Regions from separate parts of the Homo sapiens genome. Here region 2 is linked to region 1. The links are contacts of gene promoters, found by promoter capture Hi-C in human tissues and cell types (Jung and others, 2019). All regions are on one chromosome and are shown on one strand. The core of a region is centred on a gene start or on the middle of the fragment in contact, and the rest is flanking DNA. Distances in the headings are between cores, read along the strand shown.

What was found. Contacts are between HindIII fragments. The study calls those that stand out against the background at their distance.
Region 2: a contact is called between the fragment with the promoter of RINL here and a fragment that was not itself captured in region 1, in 2 of the 25 tissues and cell types used here (dorsolateral prefrontal cortex and lymphoblastoid cells).

The regions. Positions count from the first base shown.
Region 1 is chr19:38,842,300-38,844,816 of GRCh38, forward strand. It overlaps HNRNPL (heterogeneous nuclear ribonucleoprotein L), which reads right to left. Exons shown (of 13, transcript NM_001533.3): 5 at 1,709-1,805; 6 at 1,543-1,615. Among named protein-coding and RNA genes, the nearest start is that of HNRNPL, 6.4 kb to the right of the region's middle. RefSeq lists enhancers at 450-529, 612-1,112. The HindIII fragment of the contact is 4,246 bases long and covers 1-2,517 here.
Region 2 is chr19:38,877,019-38,879,535 of GRCh38, forward strand. RINL (Ras and Rab interactor like) reads right to left here and starts at 1,257. Exons shown (of 12, transcript NM_001195833.2): 1 at 1,214-1,257. It overlaps SIRT2 (sirtuin 2), which reads right to left. Exons shown (of 16, transcript NM_012237.4): 15 at 2,416-2,482; 16 at 1,542-2,292. The coding sequence ends at 2,137. RefSeq lists a silencer at 1,044-1,093 and enhancers at 1,634-1,753, 1,794-1,893. The HindIII fragment of the contact is 14,230 bases long and covers 1-2,517 here.

The DNA.
Region 1 (2,517 bases), core at 9-2,508:
CTTCCGTCTATGAAACGTTCTCCGAAAAGAGCATCGCTCGCTGGCTGGCTGGGACAGCTCTGTTCTCTGTGTTTCCTACTTCTGTGTACATTCTCGGGTTCAAGTTTGCTTGGATTTTGACCTTTTTTTTAATGTTTAATAAAAAAAGCAGTGTCTGCTGCCATGTTGCGTCTCTTTCTCTCTTTGTCTCTGTATGCCTCTGTCTCTGTGCTTGTAGCTGTTCCTTGGAGCGCGGTGTGGTGTTCTTGATGTAGTGAGCTCAAGTCTGCGGCTGTTTCTGGGGACGTGGTGGAGGCTGCATGTTCTGTTCTCTCCAGGAAGAGCTAGTGGTTTTCTACCCTGTGTGTTGGTGAGCAATGTGCAGAGGCAGAGCCGCTGAAGTATGGTTCCTGAGGGGTGGCGAAGCACCGCCCTCACTCCAGGTCACCTCATCAGCCCTCGTTTTTTTTTGGGCCCCAGCCTTGGGGCTGCCAAAGCTGAGAGGCATCAAAACCAATGCACAGCCAGCCCCCTGCCACTAGCCCCTGCCGGTCTGCACATCTTCTATTTATGTTCCTTGGAGAAGAAATGGTTGTTGCCATGTTTCTGTTAGCAGTCATGTAATGCCATTGCCCGCTCTGGTACATTCACTTGGTCACCAATTTGCCTCTGACCTTTGGAGGGAGCAGCCAGGCCCACAGGGCCCACTGTGAGGATCCTGGGGAAGAGTCTAGCCCACCCTGCCCACTGCTTCCCAGATGCAAGGGCGAGCAAGACAGGCCTGCCTAGGAATGGGGGGCTCTGGCCTCTCAGGGCCTGTGCGATGTCAGCATCGAGCCTCCTCCCTCAGCCCATGGCCTGGTCCGACGTATCAGACCAAGACAGACACCGAGATGGATGGTCTTGTTGGGGGGCTGCCGCTGTTTCTCATAGGCAATCCTCCACCTCTCCCTGCTACCAAAGGCAAACCATTCTTGACAGACACTAGGAAGGGAGTTGTCCATTTGGGCCACCTGCAGAGATGTTGCGTCCCCTCTACAAATGATGTGAGGCATGTCCGCCCTGGTCCAATCCAGAGTGTCTCACCTCCACAGGGTCAGCTTGCTCACAAGGCTCACTGCAAGAGCCCAGGAGACCTCATCGCCCCCCAACACTGTCACTCCCCCAAATCAGACCCTCTCAACAGCGCAGAACAAGAGGACAATTCCTGGTCCAGCAAGAATGGAGTGAGTGACCCTCACCAGACTCTCAAAGGAGCCACTGCTGGTTTCTAAGGCCGCCCCCACGCCTCATCCTCAGTGAGGCCCTGCTCCCCGCCCATCCAGGCTTCTGCCTTGCCTCTGTATCCTGAGCAGCATCGGAGGGCCCCAAGCAGCAGTGAAGACCCATGGAGGCCTCTCACTCCCCCATCCCACTAGGGTGTCCAAGTGCTGACCCCAAGGCCCTCCCATGTCCATGGGGGGCCCAATGGCATTACATAACCCTGAGCCCAGGCCTATTAAGTGCACTAGTCGAGTGAAAGCAAGGCGGGTATGTTTAGAACAAAGTGGTCGTCAAGATTACCTTGTCCACTGAGATTGGGGTTTGTGTAGTCCCAAGTATCCTGATCATTCTTGAACACATTCAAGCGTGTAGGCTGCAAGGACAGGACAAGACAAGACTTGAGGTCAGCCATGCCCCAGCTCACCTGGAAGCTGACAAGGGGCAGTCAGTCACCTCCCAGATGTACCTTTGCGTATTCGATCTTCAGAGTGCAACAGCCAGAATAGATATCAGCCCCATTGAGAGAGGCCTTGGCCCGCTGGGCACTTTGAACTGAGTCAAATGTGAGTCAAGTTAAGGAAAGTCCCATCACAGGAGATCTTTGAGAAGGGCTTCAAGTTACCCCAGAGTGTGATAAGGACAAGGTAGCACCCCAAGACTGTGGTACAGACGGAAGCTTTGGGATTAGCTCACTGCCCAGCCACTAGCCTCAGGTTAAGAGACCAAAACGGTGTTGATGGACTCAACGCTGCCCCGGGTGAGCAGTCACTGGCCAGAGTTCTCTCATAATCTGCACCCCGACCCATGGCCACCAGCAACCTCTTCTGCCACACCACTTTCTCCGTCTCAGCCCTCTCACACCCTTCGACTAAATCTGAAACATCAACTCGATTACAGCTCTGCCCTGAAAGTCCATCAGTGGCTTTTTCCTGCCCCTGCCCCAAGCATCGCAACGCTGTCTAGGATGCCCTAAAAGCTTCTTCCAATGTCTATTCCAAACCCGTCTGCTTGCCAGCCACTTTGCAATCCTCAGGTCTTTCAATTTCTCCATCCAACACAAGCTCCTTCTGACTTTACAACCTTTGCAGAGGCTGTTTCCTCCACCTTGAGTATAAGCTCCTATTTGCTCATAGGACATCACCTCCTCAGCAACCTTCACACATGCCCCACCTTTTTTTTTTTTTTTTGGATATGGAGTCTCGCTGTGTTGCCCAGGATGGAATACAGTGGCACAGTCTCGGCTCACTGCAATCTCCGCCTCCCAGGCTCAAGCGA
Region 2 (2,517 bases), core at 7-2,506, 35 kb after region 1:
TTCTTGTGCCTCAGTCTCCCGAGTAGTTGGGATTACAGGCGTGCACCACCACGCCTGGGTAATTTTTGTATTTTTTAGTAGAGACAAGGTTTTGACGTGTTACCCAGGCTGGTCTCAAACTCCTGACCTCAAGTGATCCCCCCGCCTCGGCCTCCCAAAGTGCTGAGATTACAGGCATGAGCCACCACACCCGGCCGGCAGGGGTTAAATCTTTAGTACCGGATGGTGGGGAATCTGGGGATCCCAGGAGAGAGGCCAGTGTGTCTTGCGGTGTGGGGAGAGGACTCAAAACAATAGCTCTTTACTGAAGTGGTAGGAAATATGTTAAGATTTTTAACAGCCATGGGGGCTGTGTAAATGTGGGCCAGCCCTTGGCAAAACCCAGTCAGCGCCTGGAAAAGTTCTTGGCCCAGAGTAGGCAGTCCCTATATCTGGAAAGGTAATAACATCCCCTCTTCCTCCCTTCCCACACCATGGAGGGGCCACTGAATCTCTTCCCCCAGCATTTTATTATGAAAAATTTCAGACATAGAGAAAAGCTGAAAGAATTGTACAGGAAACATCCCTATGCCCACTACCAAGATTCTACCATGAACATTTTACTCATCTTGCTTTATCACACATCTGTTCCTCTCTCTCTTCATCCACCCATCAGGCCCCAGCTCCTAACCAGGTACAGAGTCCTACGTAGGTTATCACTTAGGGTGGCACTTATCCCAGCAGCAGTCCCAGGAGCAGGAGACCTGGATCGGGGGAGGATCCATCCTCCCTCCCTCCCTCCCTCCCTTCCTTCCTTCCTTCCATCCATCCAGTATTTACTGAATACAGGCTGGAATTAGGTGCCTCTGCCCTGGAGAGAGGGTGATGAACAGGACAGGCTCCTCCCCTCAGGGCCTTCCATTCTTGTTTGGGGCAGGTGTAGCATATGGATAATAGGCAGCTAAACAAATACATTAGGCCATTGACCAGAAGGCCAGGGTGTTATTAGGAAGGAGGGAGGTGGGCAGGGAGGCGCAGGTGCCCTGCCCAGGCAAGAGCAGGAAGGAAGGGAGGGGAGGGGAGGGGAGAGGGAAGCAGATGCCTGCTTGTGTACCGTGGCAGGAGAGGAGGCTGTGGGCAGTGCGTGGCAGGGGTGGGTCAGGGCAGCTGCCTCATACCAAAGGGAGGCAGCAGGGGCTGAAGATGCCAGATGCTCGGTTCCTGGGGGCCCTACCTGTTCTCGGAGGAGAGGCCTGCAGTAGCAGGAAGTGGAGAGAGGAAGCTGAGCAGGCAGGGGGAAGAGGCGGGGCTGGGGTATCTGAAGTCAACTTTCCTCCCTCTTTCTGGGGCCTCAGGCCTTTAGTGACGGGGCTTAGAGGAAGGGACACTGGCAGGCTGGGAGTCCAGGGGTCAGAGCCACGAGGGCCCCCGTGAGGACCCTCTTGTTACCCCTCACTCTGGATCCCGGAGACTTTCTGGTTCCTTAGTGGCCCAAGATCTAACCCCCTCCCTTCAGAGATTTCCCTGGGTGCCCACAGAAAGAAACAGGAGGCCAGACCGGATTGTTAGTTGTTTTTGTTTTTAATTTGTCTCCAATAAGCAATGTCTTCTGCCCATCCAGCATGGGAAGTGGGTCCCACGTGAAGGGGGCCCACCACCCACTTTGGGAGCTGAAGGCAGAGACTCGGGAGCCCTCCCGGCTCAGACTCCCCCTACGCTGGGTGTGGGTTATATTCAGAGGCCCACACCCACACTGGGGTAGGTTAGGTATGGTTTACTTAGCCACAGGCCCCCGGGGGCAGGAGACAGAGTGGGGGCCCGAAGCTCCCTGTCCTGGAAGAGTTAAAAGTTCTGGGGTAGCCCTGGCCCCGTGGGGGCAGTTAGAGATGAGGGAGGTTACTCCTTAGCCCAGGAGTGGTTAGAGACAGTGGGGCTGGTAGAGATGCCTGTTTAAGCCTTGGCCTCTAGGAGGTGTTAGAGATTTGCTGGGGTTGGGGGCCAGGGTTGCTGGGACCCCAGTTTTGGGGAGGGAGCTGTAAGAGATTGGGGGATGTTCTGAGCTCCCCAGACAAGAACTGCTGGTTAAGAGGGGGCCAGGCCCGGTTGGGGCTCAGCTGTCCCTGAGGAGCTCGGCATCCCGCCTGGGAGATGCAGCTGTCACTGGGGTTTCTCCCTCTCTGTTGTCCTGGCCTCGTCCTTGGCAGGTGGCGGGGACTTCTTGGGGGAAGCTGAAGTGCTGGGGTTGGGGACCCCCGCCCCCGACTGGGCATCTATGCTGGCGTGCTCCCTCCGGACAAGGTCCTCCAGCTCCTTCTGCAGGAGCAAAGGTCACAGAAGTCAAAGGTCACTGTGCATCATGGGGTCAGAGGACCCATGGGGTGGGGAGAGGGTCCAGGGATGGGGCTCAGGACAGGCTGGGGTTGCTCAGCTCCTCACCTTCCATCCAAGGAGCTCAGCAAGGGCCAGGCAGCCCTGGTCGCATTCACCCAGCCAGGCCACGTCCCTGCGGTGCAGCAGGAGATCAGAGTTCCCAGGCGG